6 separate regions of the Homo sapiens genome follow, and all the other regions are linked to region 6. The links are contacts of gene promoters, found by promoter capture Hi-C in blood cells and fetal thymus (Javierre and others, 2016). All regions are on one chromosome and are shown on one strand. The core of a region is centred on a gene start or on the middle of the fragment in contact, and the rest is flanking DNA. Distances in the headings are between cores, read along the strand shown. Region 1 has its middle 14 kb from the start of SIL1. Region 2 overlaps SIL1 (SIL1 nucleotide exchange factor). Region 3 has its middle 31 kb from the start of SIL1. Region 4 overlaps SIL1 (SIL1 nucleotide exchange factor). Region 5 overlaps SIL1 (SIL1 nucleotide exchange factor). Region 6 holds the start of CTNNA1 (catenin alpha 1).

Region 1 (3,383 bases), core at 450-2,949, 460 kb after region 6:
GGGGAACGGTTTCACCCTGAAACCATTGCTACCCCCCATACTGCCACCCTACTCCCCACATCCGTGGAAAAATTGTCTTCCATGAAACCATCCATGGAGCCAAAAAGGCTGGGGACCACTGGTATAGCCTACTACACACCTAGGCTATACAGTCTAGTCTATGCTCCTAGGCTACAAATCTGTACAGCGTGTTACTATACTGATTACTGTAGGCAATTGTAACACAATGGTAAGTATTTGCGTATCTAAACATATCTAAACAGAGGACCGGGCTCGGTGGCTCACACCTGTAATCCCAGCACTTTGGGAGACCAAGGCGGGCGGATCACCTGAGGTCAGGAACTCAAGACCAGCCTGGCCAACATGGTGAAACCCTGTCTCTACTAAAAATACAAAATTAGCCAGGTGTGGTGGCGCCTGCCTGTAATCCCAGTTACTCGGAGGCTGAGACAGGAAAATCACCTGAGCCCGGGAGGCGGAGGTTGCAGTGAGCCGAGATTACGCCACTTCACTCCAGTCTGGGTGACAGAGCGAGACTCCATCTCAAAAAAAAAAAACCAAAAATAAAAAAATTAGCCAGGCATGGTGGCACACACCTGTAATTGCAGCTACTCAGGAGGCTGAGGCACAAGAATCGCTTGAACCGGGGAGGGAGATGTTGCAGTGAGCCGAGATTGCGCCACTGCACTCCAGCCTGGGTGGCAGAGTGAGACTGTGTCTCAAAAAAAAAAAAATTAAAATTAAAAATATCTACACATAGAAAAGGTACAGTGAAACTATTGTAGTATAATCTTATGGAATGACCATCGCATATGTGATCCGTTATTGACCAAAACATCATTACATGGTGCATGACTGTAATTGAAAAGTCCACGGGTAACATGTTGACCTTCAAGCAGAGGTGGATTCGGAGCTCCAGCTTAACGTGATATACAGACTTTCAGTTCTAAAACCAGGAAAGTCCCAGGCAAACTGGGACAATTAATTACTGTAGCTCCAATGTGTAAACAGGTCTTGGTGTCTCCATTTCTTGGCTCTGCTTTCAGCTGAGTTGGATAATTCAGTCTCCGGATCTACACATAGCAAGACAGGACAGCAGCTCCAGACCCTATATTCTCTCAAGTTGGAGTCCTGAAAGAAAGGAACTAGTTTGCTTCCCTCATGACTCCAAAGAATTAGAGTGGGTCTTACTGGCTGTCATTAGTCTACTTGAGACATATGTCCACTGTTTTATTTTATCTGGTTTAGTTTTTTAAATTGAGATATAATTCACATTCCATAAAATTCATCTTTTTAAAGTATGCAATTCAGTAGTTTTTAATATATTCACAATGTTGTATGATTATCACCACTATCTAATTCCAAAACATTTCTATCACCCTAAAGAGAAACTCTAGGCCAAGTACAGTGGCTTACACCTGTAATCCCAGCATTTTGGGAGGCCAAGGCAGGCAGACAACTTGAGCCCAGGAGTTTGAGACCAGCCTGAACAACATAAGAAACCCCTTCCCTATAAAAAATACAAAAATTAGCTGGACATGGTGGCGAGTGCCTATGGTCCCAGCTACTCCAGAGGCTGAAGTGGGAGGAGTGCTTGAGCCTGGGAGGCAGAAATGGCAGTTAGCCACTGCACTCCACCCTGGGCGACAGAGCCAAACCCTGTCTCAAAAAAAAAAGAAACCCTATACTCAGTAACAGCCACTACCCATTCCCCCTCCTTCCAGTGCCTGGCTACCACTAATCTTTCTGTCTCCACAGGTTTGCCTATTCTAGATATTTCATATAAATTGAATCAAATAATATATGGCCTTTTGTGTCTGTCCTCTTTCGCTTAGCATAATGTTTATAAGGTTCATCCATGTTGTAACATGAATCAGTACTTTATTCCTTTTTATTGCTGAATAATAGCCCATTGTATGAATATAAAAAAGTTGTACATGAATGTTCATAGCAGCATTCTGATGCCAAGTGGTAGATAGTTGGGTTGCTTCCACTTTTTGACTATTATGAATAATGCTGCTATGAGCATTCATATACACTTGACCCTTGAACAACACAAGTTTGAATTGCAAGGATCCACTTATATGCAGATTTTTTTTACCAAATGCAAATTGAAAATACAGTATTCGCAGGATGTGAAACCTGAGTATATGGAGGGCTGACTTTTTGTATACTCAGGCTCTGCAGAGCCAACTGCAGGACTTGAGTTTGCATGGATTTTGGTGTACTTGGGCGTCTGGAACTAATCCTTTGCATACACTGAGTGTTGATCATACAAGGTTACCTAGAAGTGGAATTGCTGGATTGTACGGTAACTCTGTGTATGTCCCCATTCTTGAACCAATCACTGTGGCCTAAGAATAGAATGGTATGAATGATTTAAACCTAAGTCACAGGTTCTTTTTTGTTTGTTTGTTTGTTTGTTTTTTTGAGCCGGAGTCTCGCTCTGTCGCCCAGGCTGGAGTGCAGTGGCGCGATCTCTGCTCACTGCAAGCTCCGCCTCCCGGGTTCACGCCATTCTCCTGCTTCAGCCTCCCGAGTAGCTGGGACTACAGGCGCCCGCCACCGCGCCCGGCTAATTTTTTGTATTTTTAGTAGAGACGGGGTTTCATCGTGTTAGCCAGAATGGTCTCCATCTCCTGACCTCGTGATCCACCCGCCTCGGCCTCCCAACGTGCTGGAATTACAGGCGTGAGCCACCGCGCCCGGCCTTGTTTGTTTGTTTTTTAAAGACAGGGTCTCACTTTGTTGCTCAGGCTGGAGTGCAGTGGCACAATCTTGGCTCACTGCAACCTCTTCCTCCCAGGTTCAAGTGATTCTCATGCCTCAGCCACCTGAGTAGCTAGGATTACAGGCATGTACCACCACACCCAGCTAATTTTTGTATATTTAGTAGAGACAGGGTTTTGCCATGTTGGCCAGGCTAGTCTCAAACTTCTGGCCTCAAGTGATCCACCTGGCCCAGCTTCCCAAAGTGCTAGAATTACAGGTGTGAGCTACTGCACCCAGCTTACGCCACATGTTCTACTCCTGATGCTGAGGATGGAGTCAGTTTCATTAGGACCACATGGAATGAAAAGAAAATGATGGTTCACCAGGAAGAAATGGGGTACAGTTATCAGATGGAGGATGAATGGAATCTAGGCAGCAAATCTACAGATGGTCATTGCAAATTGCCATATTAATTGAATGCTCACTATGAGCCCGGCACTGTGTTAAGTACATGCATTATCTCATGTGACCTTTACGACAGCCTCATAAGGATTCTATTATTCTATTACTCCCCTACAGATGCAGAAACTGAGCTCAGAAAAGTTGAATAAGTTGTCCAAGTTTATATAGCTGAAAATTGAGTGTTTGAACCCAGGTCTGATGCAAAGTGT
Region 2 (3,354 bases), core at 732-3,231, 390 kb after region 6:
AATAATAACTCCGCCATGGCGGAGACAGAGAAATACCCTAGTGCCACCCCTTCCCCCAGCATTCAAATATACTATCTGGGCATCCCAGAGGAAAATTAATTCTGTCAAATAATAATTATAGTCAACATTTATAGAGAACTTTCCATGTTGCAAGCAAAGTATTAGTTCATTTACTCTTCACGACAACCCTCTGAGGTGGTTCCAATATGCTGCTCATTTTACCCATGAGGGGACCAAAATTCAGAGAGGTTAAGTAACGTGCCAGAGTTCATGCAGCCACAGAGCAGTAGAGTCAGAATTCAAAGCCAGTTTGGCCCCAAAGCCATGCTCTTTCCATAGCCGTGCTGTCTCTCGAGGGGTCTGTGAAATCAGCCACAGAAACTGGACTCATCATTTTATTTGTTCTGCAACAGTATAAATAAAAAGGCACATTTTGTGTCAGGACAGAAATTTTTTTTTTAATTTTATTATTATTATACTTTAAGTTTTAGGGTACATGTGCACAATGTGCAGGTTTGTTACATATGTATGCATGTGCAATGTTGGTGTGCTGCACCCATTAACTCGTCATTTAGCATTAGGTATATCTCCTAATGCTATCCCTCCCCCCTCCCCCAACCCCACAACAGTCCCCGGTGTGTGATGTTCCCCTTCCTGTGTCCATGTGTTCTCATTGTTCAATTCCCACCTCTGAATGGGTGCTGGGAAAACTGGCTAGCCATATGTAGAAAGGACAGAAATTTTTAAATGAGCCTACTGGGGCCCTCTTGTGGAAAGACCCACCTCTACCATGTTCTAGTTTCTGCACCACACACAAACACACACCACACACACGCGCACACACACACATACCACACACAGGCACCTTGATTACTAAATGCCCTTGGCACAGACCAGCCAAGGCATAGGCACAGGCATTCAGGAAGAAGAAATCCCTTGACTCAGATTGCAGCCAGGCTTCCTTTGTGACTTGATCCCTTAAACTCCTATCACTCAAGCTTCCTAGCTATACACGAAGCAAAAGCATCCCTGCTCCCCTTCATGGAGCCCAGTGCCAGGCACACACACACATATACACACACACACACACACAAACCACAACCACACACACCACGTATATACACACACCCAACTGTCTGGCAAGAACTTGACACCTCGCCCCTCCATGCAGAAAATACACAAGACAGAAGTATTTCTACATGGCAGACAAAGACGGAGTCTTCTTTGGTGAATGGGGCTTGCCTAAGCATACCAGCAGTTGACCAGATGAATCAGAGGAATACTCAGGTCCTAGTCTGTACTTTCCAGTAGGTCCTAGACTGTAAGCTCCTAGCAAGATACAGACAAGGGGACCTACTCCTTATACCTGATCCTTGACCCTGCCTGAGGTACCGGGAGTGATCAGCCCATGTCTGATAACAACCAAGGTTACAAGAAGCTCCATTCCCTTCCAACCCACTACAGTGTAATAGGAAGAATGCAGGCTCTGGATTTTGAGCCAAGTCTCCCCTACTAGCTGTGTGACTTTGGGCCAGATGCTTAACCTCTACAAGTTTCAACCCCTTCATCTATAAGAGGACTTGATAGTAACTATTTAGTATGACTGTCTATATTAAATGAGATGACATAGAGCATATAGCACAGTGCCTGACACAAAATGAGGGCTCATAAAGCTTATAGCTCTCACTACTATTATTAGAGAAAATTCTGAGCAAAGAATAGGATAAGCAAAAGCAGCGAGGGCTTCACCCCCATACAGAACTGTCTTCTGTTCTGACAACCAAGCCCCTCTTTGGAGACTAGCTTCCCTGAGCCACAAGTCAGCCCACACACCTGGACTATACTCTGGGTGGTTACAGACACATTTCCATTGAAACCTTTAAGCGATGCTGGCTGGCTCTGCATCAGTGCCAGCTGACTGACATCAAACACTTCAGAGTCCCGCTTCCTGATGACTCAGGCCTGTCTCCAAATTCCTGCTGCCACTCTCCTACCTCTAAGGGGGAGTCAGGGAGAGTAGGAACAGCCGGGGCAAATGCAGCTGACCTAGACTGCTGGGACCACTGTAGACAGATGCAGCTAGCATCCAGGGACTAAGGGTCCCAGGGCTTTTCTTCCCTCCCCTTTTAAAATAGTAACTGGATCTCCTGACAGTATGTGCGATGGGCTTTCTCTATAGCCTGCTCCCAAAGAACACCAGGGACTTTCACACCACAGTCATCCAGATACCACGGTCAGGGTTCGAGGGGAGGAGAGATCAGAATTCATCTTTCCTTTCCCCTGATGTCTCTAAGCTTCCAGAAAACATCAGGGCCTCTTAAAGGGGCTAAAATAGGGAAGAAGGTATGATTTCCAGTCCATAGTTCTAAAGGAACTATCTGCTAACTGGTAAGTACAATTTGTTTGCCATTTCTATTGCAAGCATTCAGCACTCACACTCTAAAAGCAAATACCACACAAAGATAATTTCAGCATTAATGTCAGTTCCTTGAGCACACTGGGCACCATACTATGGAACAGAATATACAAAAGATATTGTCACTTGCCTCAGGTGGATGATGTCCTGTTCACATTCAGTGGATAATGTGGCCTTCCACATCTTAGTCTCAGACAGCATAATTATTAAAAAGAAAAGGACAGGCGCAGTGGCTCACACCTGTAATCCTAGCATTTTGGGAGGCTGAGGCAGGTGGATCACATGAGGTCAGGAGTTCAAGACCAGCCTGGCCAACATGGTGAAACCTCATCTCTACTAAAAAATACAAAAACTAGTTGGGGCCGGGCATGGTGGCTTACACCTGTAATCCCAAAACTTTGGGAGGCTGAGGCAGGTGGATCACCCGAGGTCAGGAGTTCAAGACCAGCCTGGCCAACATGGTGAAACCTCATCTCTACTAAAAAATACAAAAATTAGTTGAGGCTGGGTGCAGTGGCTCATGCCTGTAATCCCAGAACTTTGGGAGGCCGAGGCAGGTGGATCACTTGAGGCAGAAGTTCAAGACTAGCCTGGCCAACACGGTGAAACCCCGTCTCTACTAAAAATACAAAAATTAGCCAGGTGTGGTGATGGGTGCCTGTAATCCCAGCTACTCGGGAGCCTGAGGCAAGAGAATTGCTTGAGCCTGGGAGGCGGAGGTTGCAGTGAGCCGAGATCGAGCCACTGCCCTCCAGCCTGGGCGACAGAGCAAGACTCTGTCTCAAAAAAAAAAAAAAGACACTAATTACAACTTTGTAATAATGAGCTAGGCAATAATTAGGGTACTCCTTAAACTAATTGGGGAGCCCCAAGAAAATAGCATTTACTTACAGAAACACTTAGCAACAATACGAGGATGGGTCACCAAGCACAGGACT
Region 3 (3,344 bases), core at 749-3,248, 480 kb after region 6:
ATGGTGACTGGCCCCTGTAATTCCAGCTACTTGGGAGGCTGAGACATGAGAATAGCTTGAACCCGGGAGGCGGAGGTTGCAGCGAGCTGAGATCACGCCACTGCACTCCAGCCTGGACAACAGAGCAAGGCTCCATCTCCAAAAAAAAAAAAAAAAAAAAAAAAACATTTAAAAGAAGATATAGCTGTATAGCAGAAAATTTAAAGTCATAAGAGAACACTGTAAAAAAATATTTTAAAGCAATAAGTTTGAAAATTTTGGTGAAACGGGTAATTTTCCTTAAAATGGAAAAAAAATCCTGTAATGGAGATGTTATTATTTCTTTTCCACAGATAAGAAAACTGAGAAGCAGAGAAATAACTTGGTCAGATTCCCATAGCTAGTAAGAGACAGAGTCTAGATTTGAAGGCCCAAGCAGTGGACTTCTGATTCATCTTCCCTCTTTCCCTCCCACAAACATTTACACTGAGTACCTACTAGACACCAGTCATTGTGCTAGGGATTACAGGGATAAAAGACAAAATTCTTGCCCTCTGGAAGCTCCCAGCCTAGGAGACAAGACTGGGCCAAGACTAGGATAAGTAAAGCACCCAGGGCACAAGATTTAAAGATGTGTTCATTCTCACTTGCAAAACAACTTAAATTTTGTGCCCTTGCCCTGGCTCTCCTAATAAGCATAACCACAACTGCAAAAATACATGCTTTCAACAACTTGAAGCCAGTAAGACTTCTGAGCTCCAGATGTGAGGAAAGGGCATTCTAGGCAGGGAGACTAGTACGAGCAAAGGACAGAGCAGAGAAGCAGCATGATCCCTGATGGGAACTACAAGCAGTTTGGTATTTCTGAGGCACACAAATCAATGCAAGGTGGAGAATGGCAAGAAGAGAGGGTGGAGGAGTGGCCAAGGTCCAGGTCATCACAGGCACTTTATATCATGCTAAGGAGCTTAGACTTTACCCTAAGGGTTTAAGCAAGGGAGTGACACAGGCATAACAGTATTTTACAATAATTCTTCTGGCAGGAATGTAGATGGTGGTGGGGATGGAAACATGGCAGAAAGTGGACAGATGAGTTACATGGCTGCAGAAGCATCCAGGCAAGAGAGGAAGAGAGCCTGCAGCAGGGCAATAGTAGTTGAAATGAAGAAAAGGAAATGGGTTTGAGAAATATTTGAGATGCAAAATTGGCAGGACTTAGTGGTTGATTGGATGTGGGAGGTGAAAGTGTGGAAGGAATTATGAATGAGGCCCCTCATCACCTAGTTTTCACCTGAATAACTAGAGAGTATAGTAGTGGCAGCAACATCCATCCATCTGTTTCTCAATTCATTCATACACCCAATAATGTGTCCATCTGGTTAGTATTAATTCATTCATTTGTCCATTCATACATCCATGTATCCATCTATCAATACAACTATACTTTGATCAAATTCTTATAACATCATGAAGAATGCATATGTAAAAAGGCACAATACTTGGCCTTACTAATTTATTCATTCATTCACTAAGCTTTTATTGATATCCTCCTGTGTGCCAGATACTATTCTAGGTAATGAAGATATAGCAGTGAACAAGCAGAAAAGGTCCTGATTTTAAAGGCCTAATGTTCTAGTGGGAGATACAGATAGAATGCAAAGAAATAACAATTTATTTTTTTTTTAGATACAGAGTTTCACTCTTGTTGCCCAGGCTGAAGTGCAGTGGCACTATCTTGGCTCACTGCAACCTCTGCCTCCTGGGTTCACTGCAACGTCTGCCTCCTGGATTCAAGCGATTCTCCTGCCTCAGCCTCCTGAGTAGCTGGGATTACAGGTGTCTGCCACCACACCCAGCTAATTTTTTGTATTTCTAGTAGAGGTGGGGTTTCACCAGGTTGGCCAGGCTGGTCTCGAACTCCTGACCTCAGGTGATCCACCCGCCTCGGCCTCCCAAAGTGCTGGAATTACAGGCGTGAGCCACTGCACCTGGCCAGAAATAACAATTTTAGATATGAAACATCTTTGTAATAAAATAAACCAGGCTCCTTGGAAATATGGCTGATTTTAGGTTGGGGCAGGAAATATATAATGTGAGCCTGGAGAATCTTGTAGTATCAGAAGGAAAGGAAGGGTTCAGACAAAAACACATGTTGGGAGTGTGTCAAAGAGACATAGGAACCAACTGAAAGAACTACCAGTGACCAAAATTGGAACCATTTGAGCAACAAAACGAAGCATTATTGGATTAAAACCCAAAGTACAAAATAAATATTCATAAGTATATACTGATGTAAATTAATTAACTGAATAAACAAAAGGCAAAGAGAAAAATCTTTCTTGCAGAATTCCAAATAATTTATTTAGACACTTATCCCTCAAGGACGTGGATTACAACTCCCCACTCCTTCAGTGTAGGCTGTGAATAGAAACTTCATTCCAAAGAGTATAGGATGGGAAGAGGGAGATAAAGGACTAAATTTATAGTGTTGAAACCTGGCAAACGTAAGCTTAGGTGATCAAGCTTAAAATCAATAGTAATAAGTCATGTTGCTTGATATGATGTGATGAGAATGTCACTTTATTTCTGTGGTCTTCCTTCCAAAACTCCATAACCCTAATCATGAGAAAAACTTAGATAAATCCCAGTCAAAGCACGTTCTACAAAATATTTGACCAATACTCCTCCCAAGTGTTAAGATCATCAAAAATGGAAAAAGTCTGACTGCCGGGCACAGTGGCTCACACCTGTAATCCCAGCACTTTGGGAGGCCAAGGCGAGTGGATTGCTTGAGACCAGGAGTTCGAGACTAGCCTGGACAACATGGTGAAGTCCTGTCTCTACAAAAAATACAAAAATTCATGGGTATGATCATGCACACCTGTAGTCCCAGCTACTTGAGAGGCTCGAGGTTCAGTGAGCCGTGATTGCACCACTGCACTCCAGCCTGGGTGACAGGGTGAAACCTCATCTCAAAAAAAAAAAAAGAAAAGAAAAAAAAGTGGCTCAGAGCATGTGAGGAACGTGGGGGTCTGCAAAATTTATCAGGCACAGAGAGAGACATGAGCCTGAGACTCAGTTACATCCCCCAACCCATGGCTGGTGGAAATTGTTTAAAGGTATTTTGTTTTTCTTCTTCCCTTTAGCTTCAGGTTAGCTGATAAATTATCTAAAATGTTGCCACAAGTTGCACAATGTGATCCTCACTCATTATTTTCACGTTCCTGGAATTTGTGATACAAAGAACAATTATAGCCAATCGATAGCTTATGTTATTTTAATGAACCAATAAGTTATTGGTAAACAATTTAGGAACTATCCTCTCCCTTCTTTTTTCTTTTTAACCTCTTAAAAACTCTCTTGTA
Region 4 (3,585 bases), core at 1,022-3,521, 430 kb after region 6:
AGCCTCTAGTGTGACTCTTAATGTTACATCCAACTGCAATAAATGCCCAGCCCGAGCAGCAGTGGGAAACATGGCTCATCTGGGTTCACCCACCATGCCTCTAGTCACAGTGCCAGAAACAGAGGCTCAACTAGGTCCCTAATTGTTAACATGCTCCCCTGCTCTCCCAGGGATTTGGGGGAAATACTACCCAGCAAGCAATTTATTGTTGAAAACCCCCGCAGGGCTGGAGGAGTTATATACAAGTCTCAGTACTGCAGAGGGACAAGCAGTACCAAATCACAACAGCACACACCATCACAAGAGAAGAAGCACAGGAAAATGCATTCCTCCACTGGGAGTTCTCAAACAAATGATTTCCAGAGAGTCATTCTGCCTGGTTCCCCACACACAGTTCTTGGCAATTGCTGGTAAAATTGGCAGAAGGGAGAGGAGGGGTAGGACTATCTCCAGGCTTCTATTTTGAAGTTGAGAAATCACTAAACTGGCTGCTCAGCCTTCTTTATAGGACCCGCCAGAGTCCAGGATAGAGTCTGGAGGCCAAAGCAGAGAAGTCCCACCTCCTGTCAGCCAAAGCCCTTGCATCTACCTTTCACACTGTTGATGACAATCAAGGTAGAAAAAAGATGTGAGATTCTTTAACTGCAGACTATCAATATGCCTGAATTACACATTAGCCCTATTAAAGTAAAGGCAACCCATAGCAAGGCTTCACTAAAAAATGATGTTAAAACAAACCTCGCCAGGGGACCAGGGCTGGCCTGTTTTGTTTTCTACACTGTAATACACAGTTTTTGTTTTTTTGGTTTTTTTTAAGGCAGAGAAGGGGGTGGAAGGTTATTTGAATTTAAACGAGCAGTAAACACTATAATCTGTGTGCAAGGAGAAAAGGAACATTCAGAAGTGCCAAGTGCAGCCTCTTGGGACATGTGTGGCCAGGGCAGTAGTAGCCCGGGGGGCTTTCTCCTTCAGCCTCAACACGCTGCTCTCATTGCTTGGGAGCAGGCAAGCCAGCAGGCAAGGTCCACGCAGCACAAAAAGGCACTGTTCCCTAGGTCTAAGGAGAAGATTGCCCTCTCAGAAGGAAATTAATATGACGCAACACGGAATGAGCAGGGCGAGTCATCCACAGAAGTCACCTATCTAAGGAGGGGGTTTGAAGAGGTGTTACTCAAGGCATGGACCACATCTGTCTCATTCATCACTGTATTTCCAGGGCTAAGCAGGTCCTGGCACACAATGGGTACTCAGCAAATAATGGTGGACTGAATGGTAACCAGAAAGAACCCTTAGGTTGGAAGCCACTGACAAGAGCTAGAATCTAACTGTTCCTATTGTAACCTGTGGTAACAAAAGAGCCGTGGACGGCAAAGAATATATAAAGGGAGCCAAGAGAATAAAAATGAGTCTATCTCCAGTACCTGGTGCCTTAATAGACTGACAAGTGTATTCTGGTCAGATTACAATATAGCCCTAGAAGGACAAAGTGGGAAGGAGAAAAGGGGAAGAGGGAAGAGTGAGAAACAAGTGAGACAAAACATTTATTGAGTGCTTACCATGTATATATCTGAAAAACCCAGGGGGTTTCACAGCTGAGGACACAGGAGCAGGGGGGTTGAGTAGCTCCTCTGAAGTCTCACAGCTGTTACATGGTTTAAATCTGGGTGTATCTGATGCTATGACCCAAAAGCTTGCCACCATAATTTGCCTTGGTTTCCTCCAGAGGGGAGCTGGCTTCCCAGCTAATCTCTCCTACAGAGGAGAGATGCTCTTACATGTCCACATAAATCAACTTAGTCGTCATGTTTATTGGAGTTAGTTAACTGGAACTGTGACTTGATGGTCTCTTATGAATTTCACATGCCTGAGGCAGGCCCCCAGGAACTGAAACCTGGATGAACTAACTAAGTTTACAGGCCTGCAAAGCTGCACACCAGTAAGGTCCTAAGTCATCAGCTTTCTAGGGCAAACCTCTCTGGCCCGGCACAGGTCAGGTCTGGGTAAGGAAAGAACCTAAGCATGACCTCTACATGCCCCCAAGTTCTCCTCAGAAATTACAAAGAAGCCTTCCCTACTCCATGCTATGTCAGCCATACACAGAATTCTATTTGAAGGCTTTAAATTCTGATTTAAGTAGGACTAACAGAAGTAAAAAGCCAAGGATTTCTGCATGGTCCTTAGAAGCAAATGAGCCTTCCCTCCATGTCCATGGTGCTCCTGCCTCCCCGGAGTTTCCAGAGACCTTCCACACCCATGATGTCAGGTGCAGCAGAGTAGAAAGGGCAAGGTGATTTTCCATATTCTATTCAGAAGAGACCAGAGGTGAGAATCAGCCAGTGCTCCTAATGGAGGTGAATACCCTGGACAAACTCAGAGGCAGCTTAGGTTGTACTAAAAAACATTTTCAAGGTTGTCTGTTTATTGCACCTCCTGTATGAGGGCTTTCATCAGTTAAAATGGGTTTTTTCAAAGCACAGGGAAGCGGATGATTCACCCAGGTGCACAACAGCTGCTGGGAAGACCTGTGGGAAGAGGCCACCCGGCAAAGGCAGGCTGTGTATGGTAAGAAGGGTCTCCAAGGAATGCCCTACATGCCAAGCCACATGCTGTCAGGATATTAATCCAAACCCATCTTGCACACTTTACAATGTTTACTCTCTCTGGGATGTGGAGCATTAAATTATATCCAAGGACTACACAAGTCCTTCCAATTCTATTCCACACTCACTTCTTTGCTAAAAAGATTTGTAACCTGGAAACAAAGCCCTCTGCCTAATAGCAGCAATAACTCTCCGCAAAGAATAGGAAGCCAGACTGTCAGTTCAAACTCTCCTAAAAGGTATTGCCCCATTGAAGCTTTAGTTTAGGTTTCTCCAAAAAGTGGAGAAACCTACTACTGATCCCCTTTTTCCAGAGAGGACAGGCCTGTGTAACTAAGCATCCTGAAAGGAGGGTTCAAACCAAAAGAGGAAAGAGGAATCACCACCACTCCATTCCTGCCCTAACTGCAATGGTCCTGGAAATGGTAAAGAATTCCAAAGAGGACTGCCTCATTGCTACAAGAACTAAGAACAAGGTACATTAATAGGAGACAAAGCTACCTGGATTAGTCACAGCCCTACTCTGGCTAGCAGTATGACCCTAAATGGGTCATTTAGACTCTCCGAGCCTCAATATTTTACCACCATAAAATGGGGGTGTTGTGTGGCCAGGCACAGTGGCTCATTCTTATAATCCCAGCACTTTGGGAGGTCAAGGTGGAAGGATCGCTTGAGGCCAGGAGTTCAAGACCAGCCTCGGAAACATAGCAAAACCCCATCTCTACAAAAAAATTTTAAAAAATTAGCCAGGCATGGTGGCACATGCCTATAGTCCCAGCTCAGGAGGCTGAGGTGGGAGGATATCTTGAGCCCAAGATTTTGAGGTTGCAGTGAGCTACGATCACACCACTGTTACTCCAGCCTGGGTGTGAGTGAGATGTTGTCTCTAAAAAAACTACAACTAAAAAATAAATAAATGGGGATGTCATAAGAATCAGACTGAAAACAGTAAAATTTGAAAACAGTAAAATATTGCACATACTTT
Region 5 (3,324 bases), core at 46-2,545, 410 kb after region 6:
CTACAGTCTCTACAGCTCCCAAACATACAGGCCCTACGAAAGGAGAACAGTTACACTGGCCAATATTTGCCATGAAAAACCAGGCCACTACCAGAAAGAGAAGCACTATCCCCTCTGACCTCTCCATGTCTCACCCTGCCACCCACTCACATTCTGTGAATTTGTTTCTATCTGGCCATTGTCAATTCCTGTCTAATGACCTTATCTAAGAACTTAGGGAGTACTACAAAAAATGTCAGTAAAAAATCAGAGTGAGATAAATTTGCTATTCCTGGTGAGCTTTTGTGTTTGTTTTATTCCAAACCAATTCACTAAAGCTTGCTTCCTTATGACAGAAATCCTAAAAATCAATGCTCAAAGCCTAGCAACCACAAACTCCCCCTTCCAGTAACAAAATGCTAGGAAGAAAGAGAGCCACATAAAACGAAGGAAGGGGAAAATGGCCTCTCCACAGACTGTTCCAATTAATGGGAGTGGAGGAGCACAATAGTTAATGAATAAGAAAGAAAATCATCTTGATTACATTTATTTAAGGAACAAAGCAGTAGGAATGTGAATGTGAACACCTGTGTACCCAGGTTCAGCGTAATAAAAGAACACATTCTCATTCACAGCTCATTCATTCAACAAATGTTGTTTGATCATCTACTATATGCCAGGTACCTTTCCTAGGACTGGGAATACAGCTGTGAATGTGACAAACAGATCTCGTCCCTACTCTCATGAAACTTACGTTCTAGTGGAGGGAAAACAGAGTCAACAAGAAGCAGAAAAGCAAGAAAAATATCAAGTGGTTAAGTTATGGTGACTTAAGTAGTCACTTTATACCAGATAAAAGGAAGAGCCTTTCTTGTAAATAACAGCAGAACTGAGCTGAGAATGACAAAGAGCTCATCCAATGAAGACGAGAGAAAAATATTCTAGGCAGAGGGTACAGGTGGAGCAAAGGCCCTCTGTTTAAGAAGCAGAAAGTAAGTTACTGTGTCCAGAACACAGAAGGCAAGCAGAAGGGAGTAGGGGAGGTTAGGAGATAAAGCTGCCAAGGAAGGCAGGCAGGGATCGGAATATGAAAGGCCTTATAACCAGGCTAAGGAGTTTGGAGTTGATTCTAAGTATGATGGTGAGCCCAAAGGGCGTCAGGCAGCAAGGTGACGTGCTCCTTAAGAAATTGAGGGAAACTGATAACTGATTCCAAGATGGAAACTGACTTTTCAGAAAAGTTATCTAACCACAGAAATTTAAAACAGCTTAATTTCCCCAAAAGAAATGCTTCACTGTTTTGTTTTTTTTTCGGTTTTTTCTTTTGTGGAGACAAGGTATCGCTCTGTCACCCAGGCTGGAGTCAAGTGGCACCATCTCGTCTCATTGCAACCTCCACCTCCCAGGTTCAAGCGATTCTCCTGCCTCCGCCTCCTGAGTAGCTGGGATTACAGGTGCCCACCACCACGCCTGGCTATTTTTTGTGTTTTTGGTAGAGATGGGGTTTCACCATATTGGTCATGCTGGTGTTGAACTCCTGGGCTCAAGTGATCCGCCCGTCTCGGCCTCCCAAAGTGCTGGGATTACAGGCATGAGCCAACATGCCCAGCTGCTTCACTATTTTTTAATTTATCAGTTATTAAATATGCACTAAGTGAAGGGCACTGTACTAAATGTATTAAATATTGGGTTGGTGCAAAAGTAATTGTGGTTTTTGCCATTTAAAATTGCAATTATTTCATCCTCATCCAGCACTGTAAGTAGATATTATCATCTCACCTATAATTCCTATAATTCACGCCTATAATTCCAGCACTTTGGGAGGCTGGGCGGGCAGATCACTTGAGGCCAAGAGTTCAAGACTAGCCTGGCCAACAGGGTGAAACCCCGTCTCTACTAAAAATACAAACATTAGCTGGGTATGGTGGCGTAAGCCTGTAATCCCAGCTACTCGGGAGGCTAAGGCACAAGAATAGCTTGAGCCCAGGAGACAGAGGTTGCAGTAAGACAAGATCGTGCCACTGCACTCCAGCCTGGGCAACAACAAGAGAATGTCTCAAAAAAAAAAAAAAAAAGATATTATCATCTCCATTTTACAGATAAAGTAACCAAAGTTCAGACAGGAGGGGAAATGACTTGCCAAAGGCCACGCAACATGTACATGGCACAAAGCCAGGAAGGGACTCCAAGTCTCTCTGACTCAAAAGAGCCAGTGCACCAGCTACTTTCTCTAATGACTCCATCCCTTCCCTCACAAGAGGGAAGAGAAAAAACAGTTCTTTCTGGTTACTACTCAAAGCTTCTGCCCATTGCCTTCTCTCTACTTGAAGGAGCCGCTCACCTTCCCCAGTAAGGGACACAGATTGAGGCCTGACTCCAAATACCTTCTCCAAGAACCTTCCCTAACAAGGCAAACCCAACCCCACTGTCCCCATGTCGTTAGTCAGCCTCTCTCAGCCCCTAGGGTCGGGCCCATGGGTTCTGTCCCTAATGAAACTTGAGCTCTTTAAAGGCATTACAATCTTCACCATTCATTGAGCACCTACCATGTGCCAAGCACATGACCTCCATTATTTCATTTCATCCTAACTGCCCTAGGAGGTGGGTATCAGTACACACTTATTCAGATGAAGAAACTAAGTCACAGAAGTAATAAGAACAAAGTCCAAAAGCTAGTAAGGAAGAGGTGGGAAGATGGTAGAGTAGAAAGCAATGAGGACTAAACTCTGATTTTATCTGGCCCAAATTCCTATCTAAAAGGTCTGGGGAGTCATGTCCTACAAACAGTAAATTCTCATCAGATGGGTTTTATTTAACCATGTATATTGAGACTTACTTTCCAATCTGACTCTGGCATAACAAGGAAGAAAATAAAAATATTTTACCCCAAAACATGTTTCTCTGCCATATCTTGAATGGCCCTGCAAAGTGATCCCTTGTGGGAAAAATCCACATATTCTATAGAGAATCCCCTACCCCCTTGTTTTCCTTTCTTCCTTCCTTCCTTTCCAGATCCAGGAGATAATCAACTAAGAGTCACGCATTCTTTTAGGTCCGATAAGAAACATTTTACAACCTGCTCTCTCTGAAGTGTGCTACCTGAGAGCTTCCTCTGCACAATAAAACTTGGTCTCCACAATCCTTTATGTTAACCTAAACATTTCCTTTCTATTGATCCCAGATCTTCAGATAAACTCAACCGTCAGCCAGAAAATGTTTAAATTTACCTATAGCCTGGAAGCCCCCACTTTGAGTTGTCCCACCTTTCTGAACCAAACCAATGTATTTCTTGTTTGTTTGTTTTTTTGAGATGGAGTTTCATTCTTGTTGCCCAAGCTGGAGCAC
Region 6 (3,473 bases), core at 159-2,658:
AAACACGGTAAGGGCAGGTCTCCCTAGCACCCTGCTCTCTATTCAGCACAAGGCCAGCAGTGGACATCGTCGTCTTGCATTATTCAGGTTTATAGGCCAATACTGAAATCTATCTTATTCATCATCCCGTGAGCAGGGGAAACATCATTAGGGTTTTCTATACCAGGATGATAGTGAGCATGTAGTAGTTTTTGTTTTTTTGTGTTGTTTGTTTGCTTTGTAATTTTGTTTTCTTTTGTTTTTGGAGTATTCACTATGAAGATAAGAAAGGGTAAGAATAAAATGCCCCAAATGACCAGAGGAATAGAGATAGAAGTCAGGTCCCTCAAATTTGTTGGAGGAGGGGGACAAGCTGGGAGGGGGGACGTGCTGGGGGCGGGGCGGGAACAAGCCCAAAAAGGGACAGCTGCTGCGGTGCCTCTTTTGTGTTTGTAAATGTCCTCCCCGCAAGGTGGCTCTAGCCTGTAATCCCAGCACTTTGGGAGGCTGAGGAGGATTTCTTGAGCCCATGAGTTTGAGACCAGCCTGGCAACATAGTGAGACTCTGTGTCTGTAGTTCCAGCTACTCCGGAGGCTGAGGTGGGAGGGTCGGTTGTCCAGGGATTTGAGGCTGCAGTGGGCCGTGATCGCGACACTCCACCCCAGCCTGGGCGACAGAGGGAGACCCCGTCTTAAAAAAAAAAAAAAGTCCTTGATCAAGAGGGCTTCGGGTGTTTCCATCTGTGGAGTGAGGGGACGGGTTAGGTGAATTCTAGGGGCGCTTCCACCTCACATTATGAAAGGTCCTGAGAGTCAGATTCTAGTTCCACTGTGTCCCGAAGCTGTGGGGCCTTTCCTTAGCCTCCGCTTCTCCTTCTGTAAAGCCAGGTAGTTGGCCTAGATCACTTTTCCAGAAGACTGTGACTCCGGGACACCTGTGACACTCTTGAGGGGAGCGTGCCCAGTACCCCTGGTCGCGTCTCTGGGATTCCGCCGGGGTGGGGGCCCGCGCGAGGCCGCCCCTGAGCCTCACCTGTGCGCGGAGCGGTGACTCACCTGCCCTCGCGCAGCCCTCTCCGCCCGCGGGCTGTTCCAGGAGTCACCGCTCCTCCTCCCTCTCAGGGGTCACTCCCGGCCTAAGCTCCCACTAGGGGCCGGGGAGGAAGGAATTCTGAGGTGGGCGGCGGGGAGGAAGAGGTCCCTCGGGGGTCCCGGTCCGGCGTTGCCAGACTCTCTTCGCGGTGGGGGCCTTCCCTTTCCCCAAAAGCGGAGGCCGGAACGGCCGGGAGGAGCGGGCGGGGCGGCGGCGGGAGGCGCCGGGAAGAGCGAGTCGGAGGGAGGTGCCAGGAAGGGCGGGCGGGGCCGGGACAGGGGCGGGGGCCGCGGGCGGGGGGCGGGCCGGGGGCGGGGGCGTGGGGCGGCCCATTTCCTCCTCCTAGCCGGACTGGAGGGAGACAAAGCAGCGCCCGTCTGCTTCGGGCCTCTGGAATTTAGCGCTCGCCCAGCTAGCCGCAGGTAACTTCGTACCTCCCTCCTCGCGGGCGCGGTCTCTCGGGCCAGGCCGAGAGGGTCCTTGGGCCGGGCCGTCCCAAGCTGGGCCCCGCGAGCCGCGGGCGGGCGAGCGGGCGGGGCGCGGTTTCTTTGGCGACGTCGCCGGGAATTGGGCCCCGGGCGGGCGTGGGACCCGCGTCGGGCCGGCGGTCCCTTCCCCCGCAGGGCCCGAGTATGGGGCCCGGGCGGGCACGGCCGGCGCTTCCCAGCGCTCGGGAAGTCGGGGGGCCGCCTGGGCTGGGGAGGAGAAACTATAGGCCCAGCGCCGCCGCCGCGTTTCCTCTTGGAAAAGTTTTCTCGCGGTTTCCAAACTTTGTTACCGCGGCCTCGGCGCGCGCGGCAGCCCCGCGCCGGGCCCCTCGGCCGCCTTCCTTCCCTGGGGCGGCTTGTCTGGGAGCCGCTTTCCCGGGAAGTGATTGTCGTCCGGCTCCGAGGCGTTCCTGCCCCCTCCCCCTTCCCGGCCGCTGAGACTTCCCGATGGGGCGGCGGGGACGCGGGCTCGGCGAACCGGGAGGCTGGAGCCCGGGCTTCTCCCATACAGCTTCGCCGTAGGTGGGCCACACCCGTGTGGACTTTTGGCGTGACCGTCCACTTGGACTCGGGGATTACTCAGCTTTCCTGGGTTTCTTGTCGGTTGGACGCACTTAGCTTTCAGCCCTAGTTTTCAGGAGTGGCATTAGAGAGGTTTTTTTTTTTTTTTAATTGTTGTTGACTTTTAAAGGAGCGTGTGTGTGCGTGCGAGTGTGAAGCACTTGTTGGAAAAAATGTTGCCTGAATGAATGCCTGACCTTTGCTTGGCAGCAGTGGCTTCCCAGTAATGCAGGCGGCGGTTGGCCCAGTTCCAAGGTTGACTCCCTCTTACGTCCTCTTGCATCTTGGTGACATTTTTTTGGTGCGTGTGTTTTGTACAGAATTTACAATTATTTGGAAAAGAGCGAGATATGTCAAGTCTACGACTAAATTCGGGGCATTTTATATTTATGATGAAGGAAATGCTTACATCATTGTTGGGACAGGATAGGCATTTTGTGGAGCGAATATTTGTGTTTAGTCAGCAGTGATTTTTAAATACTGGACAGGTGGGTGTTACTTTAAGGAACGGAATTTATAAATCGAATTAATTAGGATGTGTTATTTTGTTTTACAGGAAGAATGAAGAATGAGTGTAGGAGTTACCTATAGTTTCTGCCTAATTATTTACCAATCTGGACTTTTGAACAAACATTTTTTTTAAAGACGGGGTCTCCGTCGCCCGGGCTGGAGCGCAGTGACACGATCATGACTCACTGCGGCTTCTGTCTCCTGGGCTCAAGTGATCCCCCCACCTCGGCTTCCGAAGTAGTTGGGACTACAGGCACGCGCCACCACATCCGTCTAATTTTTGTATTTTTGGTAGAGATGGTGTCTCGCTGTCTTGCCCAAGCTGGTCTCGAACTCCTGGGCTCAAGTGGTCCTCCTGCCTCAGCCTCCCAAAGTGTTGTGATTACAGGCCTGAGCCAGGGTGCCTGACCCCATCTGGATATTTATTCAGCGAAAGAATAATTTTTTAATCCACCTAAGAGCTCACAGTGTAATAGGGGAGACACACACCCCAGGTGTAGTACAGAGCGGACTGCAGTAAGTGCCTTAACAGTACTAATGAAACTATTGTCTGAGTCAAATCTTACCTAATAGTAACAACAAAAGAAACTTGTAGAGGCACGGAGAGGGGGCTAATAAGTTTTACTTGGGTAAGTCCAGAAAGGCTTTCAGGAGGTGGTGGCATTTGATCTGGATGAAACATGAGTCGAGTTTTTTTTAAGTGAAGGGAGAAAGTCATGAGAAGCATAAAAGGGCATAGGAGTTTGGGGAATTGTGATATCACTCTCCTGGTTTTCTTTTCCTTTTGACTCATCTCAGTTTCTTTCTTTTCCTCGCCCTCACTCTTTCCTCTCGTACCCAGG

The links. The method cuts DNA at HindIII sites, captures the fragments that hold promoters and counts their contacts. A CHiCAGO score of 5 or more calls a contact.
Region 1: a fragment that was not itself captured here is called in contact with the fragment with the promoter of CTNNA1 in region 6 in 1 of 17 cell types (endothelial precursors); the score reaches 8.1 in endothelial precursors.
Region 2: a contact is called between a fragment that was not itself captured here and the fragment with the promoter of CTNNA1 in region 6, in 1 of 17 cell types (endothelial precursors). The highest score is 8.4, in endothelial precursors.
Region 3: a contact is called between a fragment that was not itself captured here and the fragment with the promoter of CTNNA1 in region 6, in 2 of 17 cell types (endothelial precursors and M1 macrophages). The highest score is 9.7, in endothelial precursors.
Region 4: a contact is called between a fragment that was not itself captured here and the fragment with the promoter of CTNNA1 in region 6, in 2 of 17 cell types (endothelial precursors and erythroblasts). The highest score is 6.3, in endothelial precursors.
Region 5: a fragment that was not itself captured here is called in contact with the fragment with the promoter of CTNNA1 in region 6 in 1 of 17 cell types (M2 macrophages); the score reaches 5.3 in M2 macrophages.

The regions. Positions count from the first base shown.
Region 1 is chr5:139,211,050-139,214,432 of GRCh38, forward strand. No RefSeq gene overlaps it. Among named protein-coding and RNA genes, the nearest start is that of SIL1, 14 kb to the left of the region's middle. The HindIII fragment of the contact is 3,764 bases long and covers 1-3,383 here.
Region 2 is chr5:139,137,071-139,140,424 of GRCh38, forward strand. The region is part of intron 1 of SIL1 (SIL1 nucleotide exchange factor); the gene reads right to left. Among named protein-coding and RNA genes, the nearest start is that of SIL1, 60 kb to the right of the region's middle. The HindIII fragment of the contact is 621 bases long and covers 1,672-2,292 here.
Region 3 is chr5:139,227,694-139,231,037 of GRCh38, forward strand. No RefSeq gene overlaps it. Among named protein-coding and RNA genes, the nearest start is that of SIL1, 31 kb to the left of the region's middle. The HindIII fragment of the contact is 976 bases long and covers 1,511-2,486 here.
Region 4 is chr5:139,181,185-139,184,769 of GRCh38, forward strand. All of the region lies in intron 1 of SIL1 (SIL1 nucleotide exchange factor), which reads right to left. Among named protein-coding and RNA genes, the nearest start is that of SIL1, 15 kb to the right of the region's middle. The HindIII fragment of the contact is 1,166 bases long and covers 1,689-2,854 here.
Region 5 is chr5:139,162,080-139,165,403 of GRCh38, forward strand. The region is part of intron 1 of SIL1 (SIL1 nucleotide exchange factor); the gene reads right to left. Among named protein-coding and RNA genes, the nearest start is that of SIL1, 35 kb to the right of the region's middle. RefSeq lists a silencer at 2,048-2,248. The HindIII fragment of the contact is 1,961 bases long and covers 316-2,276 here.
Region 6 is chr5:138,752,017-138,755,489 of GRCh38, forward strand. CTNNA1 (catenin alpha 1) reads left to right here and starts at 1,409. Exons shown (of 18, transcript NM_001903.5): 1 at 1,409-1,494. CTNNA1-AS1 (CTNNA1 antisense RNA 1) reads right to left here and starts at 1,908. Exons shown (of 2, transcript NR_134244.1): 1 at 1,507-1,908. RefSeq lists a silencer at 1,299-1,738 and enhancers at 1,442-2,009, 2,010-2,576. The HindIII fragment of the contact is 6,352 bases long and covers 1-3,473 here.